Regions from separate parts of the Homo sapiens genome. Here region 2 is linked to region 1. Evidence: promoter capture Hi-C in 16 types of primary human blood cells and fetal thymus (Javierre and others, 2016). All regions are on one chromosome and are shown on one strand. Each heading gives the region's core, a stretch centred on a gene start or on the middle of the fragment in contact. The rest is flanking DNA. Distances are from core to core; before and after follow the strand shown.

Region 1 (6,596 bases), core at 1,622-4,121:
TCTTCACATATGTAACAGTGCCGGAGTTTTTCTGCTTCTCTGTGTTTGTTCAGTAACTCTTCTTTAGGATACACCTAAAGATGAGAAGCTTCATACCCAGTACTCCTCTTCATTCACTCATATGTTTTTGGGATCAGTCCCTTCTGCTGGCTGTGCATTGGTCTAATGGAACAGAATAGAGTCCAGAAATAACCCAACATGTATGTGGACAACTGGTTTTTGACAGAGGTGCAAAGGTCTTGAAAAAATGATGCTGGAATAATTGGGCATCAGATGCAAAATTAAAAACAAATTGATCCATATCTTAACACTGGCAAAGATTAAAGTCCAAATGGATTATAGTTCCCCAAAACTGTATAATTTCTAGAAGACAACAAGGAAAACGTGTTCAGCCTTGGGTTAGGAAAAGATTTCTTAAATCCAACACCAAAAGCACAATCCATGAAGGAAAAATCGATAAATTGTACTTTATCAAAATTGAGAACTTCTCTTTGAAAGGTACCATAAGGAGAACAAAAAGACAAGCTGTAGAGTGGCAGAAAAATATTTGCAAAACATTTCTGATAAATGAGTTGCATCTAGATTACATAAAGAAGTCTCAAAACTGAACAAGTAAACCCATTGTTTACTTAATCGCTGTTTCTCCTGAGCTTGCTGCCTCTGCCCCTGCTCTCTCTCCTTTTCCATTTGTTTTCAACATTGAATCCAGAATGTTCTTCTTGAGATCCAAGTCAGATCACACCAACCCTCAGAACTCTCCAATAGACGACCATGGCACTCAAAAGTCCACAATAGCCTTCAATGCTGGGCAAAACATGAAGCACCCCTTTTCTCCCTTCTCTGACCCCATCACCTCTGTGTTCACCCTGCTCCTGCCGTCCTCCCTGCCTCCAAAACAGGTCAGGCCTTCGTGCCTTTGCACTTACTATTTGCAATACCCAAATGTTCTTCAGGCTCTTTAGCCTCTTCATTTCTTTCCTGAAGTGTCATTCTCACTGAGGCTTATCTAAAGCTGCAGCTACTGGGGCATTCCTGTCTCATCTCCCTGCTGTATTTTGTACTCCCGGCTCTCTTTTGTACTTTTAAACATACTATATGGTTTACCTTTGTTGTTTATATTTGCATGTTGTTTCCCACTTGAATGTAAGCTCCAAAGATTTTATTTTTTTAAACTGAATTATTACTGTATTCCCAGAACAATTCCCTGGCAAATATTTGGTACTCAATAGTAATGCTAAGTTAGTAAATAAATGATGAATTTAGAATCAAAATAATGTGTCTATGGCCAAAATAAAACCTGAAATCCCTGTCCTATTTCCCAGAGGTAACTGCTGTTAATAGTTTAGTTGTGTGCTTCCAGACATACCTTCACAGAATCATTTATCACAATAAAGGTGTCATACTATGCAGATTGTTTGACAAGATGCTTTTTTTCACTTTACACGGGCATCTTTTCATACCATTGTGTGGCCAGGCCATGATTTGTTTTCCAAAAGACATTTACCCAATTTATATGGTGAAGATTTTTGTCCATATTACTTTTTATAGTATTTCTGTAGGGTAAGTTCCCAGAAGTAATATTGCACGATCATCGAAAAATTTTAGTGTTACATTACTGCCCCATAAAGGTACTAATTAACATCCCTCTCAACAACATAGAAGATTCCTTTTTTTTTTTTTCTTTTTTTGGGTGGAGGGGGGCGGGGACAGAGTCTTACTCTGTCGCCCAGGCTGGAGTGCAGTGGTGCCATTTCTGCTCACGGCAACCTCCACCTCCCGGGCTCAAGCTATTCTCCTGCCTCAGCCTCCCAAGTAGCTGGGAATACAGGCACGCGCCACTACGCCCAGCCAATTTTTGTAGAGAAGGGGGTTTCACCATGTTAGCCAGGCTAGTCTCGAACTCCTGACCTTGTGATCAGTGCTGGGGTTACAGGCGTGACCCACCGCGCCCGGACGGATTTCTTGTTTTCATACTGTCATCAACTTTAAATACAAGTATTTTCAGTTTTTGCCAATGCTGTTAATTTAGAAATGTGTATGTATATATTGTCTGGTGGGTGTTTGGATGGAAACGATCAAAATCGGGCAACTTCCCCAGTTTCCTTGAAGGGAGTGCTTGCCATCGGCCCCTCTGGGAAGTAGCTCTCCGTAGTTCTCCATCTTCCTGTTTTGAGGAACGCAGGAGGAGGTGGATCTGGAGTCTCATCCATTCGGTGGCTGTTAACGGCAACTGCAGCAGCCAGCCAGGTCACCCCCTAAAGCAAAGTTAACCCCTTGCATGGTGCCTTGGTCAGCACCCACCAAATTCGAGGTTTCTCCTATCCTTCGACTCGAGGCTCTTTTGACAGATGTGATTTATTTCCTCCTAGAGCCAGTCACATTGGCTCAAGCAACCTATCGTAAGAAAACAAATACAATAGTGTTTTAGCTGGAAACTGCCCACTGTCTAAGCGGCTTTTTAAATTAAGAACTCAGGTTCACTACGGGATGGCTTAGGCCAGGGAACAGCATGTGCGAAGTTCGAAGCCCGAGAAGTTTGGAGGAGCGGCCCCAGGCGCAGGCGGGTCCCGCAGCGGGGCCCGTGCCGCCCAGGCGATCAGCCCCTTCACTTAACCCGCTTCCCTCCTAGCAGGCCCGAGTCCCCTAGCCTCAGCCTCACGCAGCCAGAGCAAGGGGAAGAGGGAGTCCTTCGTGAGTTCGCCGCTCACATTCGGCGGTGGGAAACCGATCCGAAGATGCTTTTGTAGGCGAAACGCTCAGCTCGCGCGGCTCTGAACCACCGGGGAGCAGCGGCTGCTGCTAGTCGGACTACGCCAGCACCTCCTTGTCCAGCCCGGGAGCAGCCCCGCCTCGCTCAGGGCCGCGTGCGCGTGCGCGGCTCCAGGGGCGGGGCCTGCTCGCGTCCCGGGTGCCTGGATACCGAGCGCGTCCGTAGTGGCGGCTGGCGCTAGGGAACTGCAGGGTCTAGGGTGTTGTCGGAGTGGCAGTTGGTCCGAATTTCTCCCGAAGCCCGCGGAGGAGCGGGTAAGAGCCCCGCGAATCCGGCCCCAACCTCGGGAACGGGATGGGAGGCGGCCCTGGCCGCAAGCCCCGCGCTGCTAGCGGGTCCACCGCGTCGTAGCCGACAGCCGCCCTTCTTCCTCGCAGCGCGCCGCGATTCACCAGCCTGGTCCCTTCTGCGGAGAGCGATGCCGCTTCCCGACACCATGTTCTGCGCTCAGCAGATCCACATTCCCCCGGAGCTGCCGGACATCCTGAAGCAATTCACCAAGGCTGCCATCCGCACCCAGCCGGCCGACGTGCTGCGGTGGTCCGCGGGGTAAGCGCCCTTGGCCCGGGGAGCTGTCCGGTCTACATGCCCAAGCCAGACGAGCCCAGAGAGCCCTCCTCCCGGACCAGGGGCCTTACGCGGCACTCAGCGTCCTTAAGAGTATCAGGCAAAACTTTCCCCTTAGCATTGGTGACATCTATACTTGAGTGTTTTATCTAGGAACCATTTCGATTTATCGACTATGAGACCCGAAATCATTGCAAAATGCTCACTTACCTACAACGTAATGGCAACTCAATTGTTTAAAAGTGTTTATGATGAAGATAGACTAAAACTTAACAAAGTAATTGCATTGGGCAAAAAAGTGTTTACATTATGTTAAAAAAATTACACGGTTGCAGTCACTTTGTGAAATGACTTTACAAAGAGGAATATTTTAGCTAAGTTCCTCATCTGCAGAGAGTCCTCTCAGAGCTATGTATACCCAGAGCTGGTTAAATTTATTAGAACCGGAACGACCGTGGTCATACTGAGGTCATCATCCCTAGAGTGCTCAGGGTAAACTGTCCAGCAAATGAAGCTTCACAGTTTATTTTTTGCCACAAACATTCCAACACTTGCCAGGAACAGACATTCATAATCTCAAAGTTACAAGTCAACAGATCTTAGAGGCATTAAAAGAAATCCTCTTGGTTTTACAGGAGAGCTCTTTGCCCCTTTTCAATAAACAGATGTAAAACAAAAACTCACTTTTATGATGACAAGAGTCAGCACAGGTGTAAATTTAATTTAAATATTTTAGTCATCAACATTTCAAATTTTGGCTGGGCTTGGTGGTTCATGCCTGTAATCCCAGCACTTTGGGAGGCCAAGCTGGGAGGATCACTTGAGCCCAAGAGTTTGAGACCAGCCTGGGTAACACAGCAAGACCCCATCTGTATTTTTTTTAATAAGAAAACTAATTTAAAAAGAAAAAAAACAGCCAAATTTTGCTGGCTTTAAACTCTATAACCAAAGTGAATTAGTTTCGTTTGGCTGCTGTAACAAATCACCACAAAACTTGACAGCTTAAAACACAGACATACATTTGGGCCGGGCGCGGTGGCTCACGCCTGTAATCCCAGCACTTTGGGAGGCCGAGGCGGGTGGATCATGAGGTCAGGAGATCGAGACCATCCTGGCTAACAAGGTGAAACCCCGTCTCTACTAAAAATACAAAAAATTAGCCGGGCGCGGTGGCGGGCGCCTGTAGTCCCAGCTACTCGGGAGGCTGAGGCAGGAGAATGGCGTGAACCCGGGAAGCGGAGCTTGCAGTGAGCCGAGATTGCGCCACTGCAGTCCGCAGTCCGGCCCGGGCGACAGAGCGAGACTCCGTCTCAAAAAAAAAAAAAACACAGACATACATTCTTGCAGTTCTGGAGGCCAGAAGTCCAAATTAGTTTCACTAGGCTAAAATCAAGGTGTTGACAGGGCTTTGCTCTTTCCAGTGGTTCTCAGGAAAACCCAGCTCGTTTCCTTGCCTTTTCTGGCTTCTAGAGCTGCATTTCTTGGACGCCTTGGCTCATGTCCCCTTCCTCCATTTTCAAGGCCAGCATCTTCAAATCTCCCTCTGCCTCCTTCTTCCAAGGACACTGGTGATTGCATTCAGTGGCCATCCAGATAGTCCAGGGCAGTTTTCCCACCCGAGATCCTTATCAGTCCACAAAATCCCTGTTACCATGTAAAGTAACATTCCCAGGTTCCTGGAACATGGACCTGGATACCTTTGGGGCTGTTATTTTACCCACCAACTGAGCTACTTGTCCATCCAGTGCTTGCCTTCTGAGAAATGCTTTTATCAATGGTTTCTGAAAGACTCTTTCAAAGTTCTTGCTAAAGAAATATAGCCTCTGGTTTTAACCATTATTCAAGCTTAAATAAAAGGATTTATAAGAGTTTGTGCTGTACAAAAAATTCCAAGATTTAGCAACATCTTCTTGGAACATTAAACTATATTTAGTAATACCTTAGAGATAGTTATGTTAAGCTTCACTTTGTTTATTTATTTATTTATTTTTGAGACGGAGTTTCACTCTTGTTGCCCAGGCTGGAGTGCAATGGCGAGATCTCGGCTCACGGCAACCTCTGCCTCCCGGGTTCAAGCGATTCTCCTGCCTCAGCCTCCCAAGTAACTGGGATTACAGGCACTTGCCACCACACCCGGCTAATTTTTGTATTTTTAGTAGAGATGGGGTTTCACCATGTTGGCCAGGCTAGTCTCGAACTCCTGACCTCAGGTGATCTATCCACTTGGGCCTCCCAAAGTGCTGGGATTACCAGTGTAAGCCACCGCACCTGGCCTAAACTTCACTTTAAGAGGCTTAATCAGGCTGGGCATGGTGGCTCACACCTGTAATCCCAGAGTTTGGGAGGCCAAGGCTGATGAATCACCTGAGGTCAGGAGTTCGAGACCAACCTGACCAACATGGTGAAACCCCATCTCTACTAAAAATACAAAAATTAGCTTGGTGTGGTGGCACGCATCTGTAGTCCCAGTTACATGGGAGGCTGAGGCAGGAGAATTGTTTGAAACCGGGAAGCAGAGGTTGCAGTGAGCCAAGATCGTGCCACTGCACTCCAGCCTGGATGATAGAGCAAGACTCCATCATAAAAATAAATAAATAAATAAGAGACTTAATCAGGAACTTTCCGAATGTACCATGCTACTAATTTCTCTCAAGAGCCATTTATTTATTTATTTTTTAGATAGAGTCTTTTTCTGTGGCCCAGGCTGGAGTGCACTGGTGCTATCTAGGCTCACGGCAACCTCTGCCTCCTGGTTCAAGCAATTCTGCCTTAGCTTCCCAAGTAGCTGGGATTACAGGTGCGTGCCACCACGCCCAGCTAATTTTTGTATTTTTAGTAGAGACGGGGGTTTCACCATGTTGGCCACGCTGGTCTGGAACTCCTGACCTCAAGTAATCTGCCCTCCTGGCCTCCCAAAGTGGTGGGATTATAGGCTTGAGCCACCGCGCCTGACCAAGAACAATTTGTGAGTTTAGGAGAAAACCCAGGTATTATTCATTCGGCAGTATATATGTAATTGTAGGTTCAAATATGTTTCAGCTGTCACAGGACAGAATCTGTTAGGGAGAGCTATTCAAAAGTAACTTGAGTAAGGCGGGACTTGGTAAGTGCAAAAATGAAGGGTCACGAAAGTTAAGCAAAGTAGTGGCTTGGTCCTTGAGAGATTTTGTAGGCAGAGAGATTGGGGCTTGGGTGGGGTGGAGAGGATTCCAGGAAGAGGAAGCAGCACAGGAAGAAGGGGGTGGAGACAGGAAAAAGA
Region 2 (6,827 bases), core at 3,143-5,642, 2.6 Mb before region 1:
AGATAACAGCACACACCCTTAATTTTTTTCTAGTAGGTCCATGTGTTAATTTAATTTTCACTCACTATGTTACTGAATAATCTGTTTATGAGAAAATTACAAATTCAGCAAATGTCTTGCTTTTCGGCATACTGTATTTCTGCTGAACTCACCCTGTGCCCACTTCTTCCGTCTTTCCCTTCAGCTCTGATGCCATGGGTTTTTTCCATATCGCCAGCACACATATTCTTCCTGATTGTGACAAAGCTTTGTGACATTTCCTTGGGAATTCACTTTAGCTCTGTACCTTTATATTGAGCTTTTTTCTTTTGCCAGAAGCTCATTGACATTAAATGCTCAGTCTTGTATGAGCTGTGTTTAACTGTTAATGTAATGCTTGTGTCATCCATTAGGCCCATCACTCATCCATATTTCACTTCTCTTCAAAGGCTTTCATTTTCTCTGTTGATTTATTGGTGTAAGTATTGAAATGCTTGACTGTATATTTCAGTAGACTATAGTGCTTAGATTTTCAACCTAACTACCTTACTTGAATTTTTCCTTTTTCTGAAATGAAGATATTTTCAAGACATTCTTGCTTGATGTGCCACCACACTAAATGGGGTTACGAATGCACACTTGAGTCCAATACCTGGGTTCAAATCCTTGATCCCCCACTTACTGACTGAGATCTTGGTTGAATTAGTTAAGCTTTTTGTTCCTTGGTTTTTGCCTCTGTGCAATAGATAACAGTAATCTATTTACTGTGTAAGCTTCGTAGGAGGGTCAAACGGATTAATACATGTCGTCCTCTTAGAAGAGTGCCTGTCGTCATGTAGTAAACACTCAGTGAACGTTAGTTCTCCTCCTGGTTGTGCACACTATCACCTTAATATTTCTGAGTTGTGAGAGTGATATTTTACATGTAGCTGTTATTGTTGAACTGTAGTTTTATAAACTTGTTTTCACAAAGGCTCCTCAGGGCAGCTCTAATGTGTAACCACATTTTGAGTAGTGTACCACATGAGCACCTCCCGAGCACAGTGAAATGACAACCTGAGTCATAATGACACACGGGCCTGAAATCTGCCTCCTCTTGGTATTCATTTCGCTTTAGGAATTAGAATTTAATTGATCCTCCTTTGAGCTGTGATTAAAAGTGGTGTTATTTCCACAGCCCTGCCACAGTCTTATCCACTGACTCTACTTAAACTTCTCTGTTCAGGGAATGGCTGTTGTTATGATAATTTGTTAGTAGTAGGTGGACTGCCACATTTAAAAAATCTATTTATGATGAATTCAACTTTCCCAAAGGAGGGTTGCTTTTTTTTTCTCCTGTTGTCAGCCTCCCTGGGAATTTTACTAAAATAAAAAAATAAATAAAGGCTTTAACTATTTATTTAGTCCAAGGACTTGGCATTAATCCATAGTGATTTCTTGGTGATATTTTAATCTGTAGGAAACAGATCAGTAGATCAGTAAATTGGCTAGGCAAAAAAAAAAAAAAAAAAAGGTGCATTTGATGGATGGAATGAGCATTTGCAGCATTATGGTAGCCTTGGATTTTGGTTAAGTTCTGTTAGCATTAGTATGCCTATTTAAAATTATATCTTCTTAAAATAAAGTTTACCAATTCTGGAATATTAGGAGGAATTCTATTCCTGTCATCCTATTACTAGAATATCTTCCTATCCCTCTTCATTTCTTCTACCTTTATACATACTCATGTTTTCAGCTACGGTGCTAATGAACACATAATATATCCTGCTTGTTAAAACTTAATCATGAAGTATTTTTTGTATTCCGAATGGTCTTCATAGTGTTTCTAACAAGTGCATACTTTGCCAAATGGACAGACTGTCATTATCCTGTTCTGTGTTCAGATGGAGAACTTAGGCATTTGTTTTGTTTTTCGTTTGTTTTTACTGTCCAGTTTAGAACTTGTGGTTGAGCCGTGGATTGCTGGACTCTGGCCAGCCCTCAGAAAGCATTTTAGGTCAAGCAGAGGACAAGAGGAGATAAGTGGCGCACTCCCGGTGGCATCACCTGCATCCTCGAGGACAGACCTTGTGAAGTCAGAGCTGCTACACATTGAATCTCAAGTCGAGCTTCTGAGATTCGATGATTCAGGAAGAAAGGATTCTGAGGTTTTGAAGCAAAATGCAGTGAACAGCAACCAATCCAATGTTGTAATTGAAGACTTTGAGTCCTCACTTACCCGTTCGGTACCCCCACTCTCACAAGCCTCTCTGAATATTCCTGGTTTACCCCCAGAATATTTACAGGTACATCTGCAGGAGTCTCTTGGCCAGGTAAGGAAGTTTTTCTTTATGCTATAGATGCTATTTAATCATGGATGTTTGCTTTGGGCTTTTAAATTATTATTACATTAGAAGAGAGGTCAACAAACTATGGCTTACTGGCCCAATGTGGCCCAGAGCCTTTCTTTTGTAAATAGATTTTACTGGAACACAGCCATGCCTATTCATTTAGGTAGTGTCTATGACAGCTTTTGAGCTGCAATAGCAGAGTTAGTGGTTACCACAGGGGCCTGCAATGCCTAAGGCATTTGGCCCCTTCCAGTAAAAGTTTTCCCACCCAGGTATTACAAAAGGTCTTGTATTATTACTTCTGTATTTGAAGAAGTAGATAAGAACTCAGTTTCATCATTATTTTGGAGAACTAACAACTTGGTTTCTCATTTTAGATGAGTCAAACAGAGATGAGTTGTGTGGGCAGTGAGTTGAGTATCACATTGCATAATAGCTAATTTCTCCCCACAGGCAGTGTATGGTACCCTGAAGTTTTTCTAACCTGCTTAAAATAAGTTTCCAGAGCAGGCAGTCTTTGAATGCAGGGCTAAGCCCTCTTTCTGTTGAGTGGCTGTTTGGAGTTCCACATGGACTTTTCTTACAAAAACCACACCCTTACTGCAGCTATTACCAGTTTTAATTTCTTGTTTTTTTTAATGAAGACAGATTTAGACATTTAAGAAATAATTTGGATGCAGCATCTTTCTTGTATATTAGCACTGTTTGTAAACACCTGGTATGATAGCAATTTTTTTTAGCATCTTTTATAATGTCTTTCTAAAGCTTTCATGTAAGTATGATTTTGTGTATAAACAACTATGGGCTATTGTTTTTGCACTTGTACTTCATTATTTTGTGAATTGTTTAAGTGAGATAATTGCAGTAAGTGTATCTCAGTCTGGTTTGGGAACAGACACAACTTATGCCTGGACTGGTGGGAGCAGAGTGCAGTGTTGCACCACAGACAGGATCAGTTCATGGCAGCGGGGATAGAGATTAATCATTAATCTGACTAGGAGTTTTAAATTAGCCGGAAGATCTGTTAAGAGTTTATGGGTTTTTTCCGGGAGGCGGAGGTTGCAGTGAGCCAAGATTGCGCCACTGCACTCCAGCCTGAGCGACAGAGTAAGACTCCGTCTCAAAAAAAAAAAAAAAAAAAAAAAGTTTCTGGGTTTTTTCTTAATAGAAAGTGTCATTAAATAGGCTTGAGTTGTTAATAATGTAGTTAAAAGATTTAACAAATCTGAAGTACTTAAGAGAGACAATATAAATATGAAATAATATACTGAGAGAGTAAAGAATTGGGAAAAAAAGAATGTTTTGTAGGGCATCCTCTTGGGACCATTGCCTTGAGGCACAGAGGGGTTGGAAGCAGGATTGGGCACAGTGAGAAGCTGAGCTGCGATGCAGTCTCAACAAAGGCCTCAGTCAGCTCCTCTCCATATGGTACCTTTCTGCCATGTGGAAGTATTACCTCTAATAACCAGAGGGTCTTCTGGGTTGTGTGGTAGAGCGGCAGGACCTGTTAACGAGCACTGTCACTTGGATCTGCTGTAGAGCCCTCTCCTGCTCTGGGCCCCACGCAAAGCTGGTGGCCTTTTCTGTCACCTGGTATTTGGGTCTCAGCAGTCCTCCCAGGTATGGAATGTGCTACCCACAGATCCTGAAGAGACTTAGCAGTGGTTCTGCTTCTCTCTAGAAGTGAGGTACAAGGTGCACTAGTGTGGCCTTCACTTGGGAGGGGATGTCCTGACGTGCACCAAACTGTTAGAACCCTAAAAATTGTGCTGGCACTGCAGGCCCTTTAATTGCATAGGGCATGGGTCTTACCAAAGACCGCACTGTCCTGGCTACTCCTCGTTGCTCATTCAGTCTGATAGCACGATGCCCCTGATAGAGTAGGCTAGTGTGGTGCTTTGCAGGTGTTCCACATTTATTCAGACTCTTATAACAGCAGGCAGGACTTATGATAGCCCTGGGGCATAATTGTAAATTTATACATTGTTCCAGCGCAAAGTGAACTGTTTCTGATCCTCTTTAGTGATAGGGTTGGGAAGGAGCACTTTGACTAAATCATTGTCCGTGTACCTGAGGCCATGCTAGTCTACTTTGTTAAGGAAAACCAGCTTGCACGGAGGTTACAGTGGACCTGTTTCTTGTTTGAGTTTCCAGTAGTTCAGTGTCATCCCCCAGGATTTATGTGGTTTTTGCAGTGGTCAAACTGGTGAATTAAATGGAGATACGATAGAGACCATCCCCTGTGTCCTCCAGCTTTTTAAGGATGTCATTTCTCTCAGGATGCTATTTTGTTTCTCTTGTTCTATCTTGGTGTTTAGGGAGGAGGATGGCGTCAAATTCAGAGACTTCTTCTTGGCCCTCCCCATGATGATAGATCTTAACGTCATAGGCCAATAATTCGGTGTTGCCCTGTGCCAGCTGCTGAGTGGCCACTGGAGGTCCTGGGCCAGGACGCCATTTACCGCCTGGCCCCCATGTGCCTTGCTGTCATAGATGAGCTATGCTGATGCTTTGGGTCCCTGGGTAACAACATTCATTTGAACCCCCTCTTAACAGACCCTGGAATGTTTGCACATTCCCCTTAGCCCAGTGTACATTTCCCCTTTGGGAGAAGGACTGCAGAAGCCATTGTCAAGTACAGTTTCTATAGTGTCTCACAGTCCCTCCTCCTAGGGACCTCTTCTCTCCTACAGTCAGTGGGTTGCAGGTCTGGAAACAGGGCAAAGGATCGTTTTTATTGGAGCAGCGGCCTACAGCTCCTTTTACATGCCTCCTTGATTTCTTTTCATTGTAAGGATTGATCCAGTGCCTTTGTGGGCTGCCCATTTTTTACATCTGTGTTCTGCCCTCCTCAATTTAGGACCTCAGCTGTGTTGTGTGCATTCTCTCCTAGCTCCTGTGGGGGCATAGTGCTCTGTCGTATACTTTCTTAGGGGTTAGTCCCTTACCTTCCTTAGCTAGCCCAGTGCTTTAGTGGCCGAGTGTGTCGCAACAACCCCAGTTATTGGTCTAGCAACCAGAAGAGGGGATGGGGTGTGGTAGTGGGGGTACAGGCATGTGCTGTGGGCAGAGGTCCTTACACCATCCAGATGCGAGAAGGGAGTTCTTACTCTTCATGGGAGGGACTGGCCACATCTGCAGGCTCAAAGAGTTCAAGGGAATCTGGGTAGGAAGATTTTTAAGGGAATCTGGGTAGTCAAGATTTTTAAGGCGTTCTGGGTAGTCAAGATTTTTAAGGGAATCTGAGTATTCAAGATTTTTTTTCCCAGTTAGTCCTTGGCTTTCTCTGCCTTCACTGTCATGGGCTGCATGAGATGACTGTGTCTTTCTAAGCTCCTGAGGATGTCCCCTGGCTTAGTTCTATTTTAGTTTTACTTAGTTCTTAATTGGTGATTTGTCCTTTAAGCTTTTTGCATTTTTTTTCAAGTGCGAGTGAATTTTAGCAGTAGCCCCCCAAGTCCCACCAGTCTTCTCTTCTGCTGTTTCTCTCTAGTTCTCAAGCACCTGATGGATCTTGCAAGGTGATGCATTTGCTTCCACTGGCACTCCCTGCTACTTACGGTTGCATTGTTGCTGTGTGCCAGTGCCGTCTGTCTGCTCTCTCACTGGTGTGGTGTTCTCATTGTCAAACAGGCAGATGATCCAGCTCTAGACTCCATTTTAGCATCTTTCCCAGGCTACCCTGGCACTGACTGTCACAGGCTGGTTCCCAGGAGTCAAACAATGAGATGTTTTTAGGGCATCCTCTTGACAGCATCATCTTTGGGCATGGAGGGATGGAAGCAGGATTGGGCACAGTGAGAAGCTGAGCTGCTGTGCAGTCTCAGCAAAGGCCTCAGCCAATCCCACAGGGTTCTCTGGAGCTGGTGGGTCTTCAGAGTTGTCCTGAGTTGGAACGAAGAGGCTGGACCTTTGTAGTCTTTGATGAGACATTGGATGTGGGTTGCCTCTGAAAGGAGGTGTGGGCAGGGGTAAGGTGTGACCTAAGAATGCTGAAGTGTTTCTTTCAGGTGGCAGAGGTAGTCATTGTCAGCACTGCCATAGCCTTTGCAGAAGGCAGTCTTCTTAGGGGTACATCTCAGTACCCCCACATTATGGCTCCCAGACACCCAGAACTGACCTTCATCCCAGCTTTCCCATATAGCCACTTATCCACAGTTAATTGACTAGTACTGTTAAAATATTTTGTTTTTAAACTTAGGAATATAGAAAAGGAGTAGGGAGTATTATAAAGAACTGGGATTTTTTGCAGTTTTCCAAGACCTACTGTGTCCAGTACAGGAGCTGCTGGCCACATATAGCTACTCAAATTTAAATTAATGAACATTTGTTAAGATTAATAATTAGTTTCTTAGTGACACTACCTGTATTTCACCAGCCATATTTCAGCAGCCATATGAACAGCATTGCCCCACACTAGGGGGTTCCTGTGACCATCTACACACATGTTGCATTCTTAAACATCTGTCACATTCTTCAAGATCTCTCCTTCCTGAAACATTTGCAGACATTCTGTTT

Evidence for each region. The method cuts DNA at HindIII sites, captures the fragments that hold promoters and counts their contacts. A CHiCAGO score of 5 or more calls a contact.
Region 2: a fragment that was not itself captured here is called in contact with the fragment with the promoter of ROPN1L-AS1 in region 1 in 3 of 17 cell types (naive CD8 T cells, activated CD4 T cells and total CD4 T cells); the score reaches 9.4 in naive CD8 T cells.

What each region holds. Positions count from the first base shown.
Region 1 is chr5:10,438,980-10,445,575 of GRCh38, forward strand. It overlaps ROPN1L-AS1 (ROPN1L antisense RNA 1), which reads right to left and starts at 2,872. Exons shown (of 2, transcript NR_102746.1): 1 at 2,709-2,872; 2 at 1,756-2,394. It overlaps ROPN1L (rhophilin associated tail protein 1 like), which reads left to right and starts at 2,900. Exons shown (of 5, transcript NM_031916.5): 1 at 2,900-3,319. The coding sequence starts at 3,189. It overlaps MARCHF6 (membrane associated ring-CH-type finger 6), which reads left to right. Exons shown (of 26, transcript NM_005885.4): 26 at 1-1,409. RefSeq lists a silencer at 2,754-3,013. The HindIII fragment of the contact is 3,763 bases long and covers 87-3,849 here.
Region 2 is chr5:7,876,032-7,882,858 of GRCh38, forward strand. MTRR (5-methyltetrahydrofolate-homocysteine methyltransferase reductase) reads left to right here. Exons shown (of 15, transcript NM_002454.3): 5 at 1,913-2,291. Among named protein-coding and RNA genes, the nearest start is that of MTRR, 10 kb to the left of the region's middle. The HindIII fragment of the contact is 2,641 bases long and covers 3,073-5,713 here.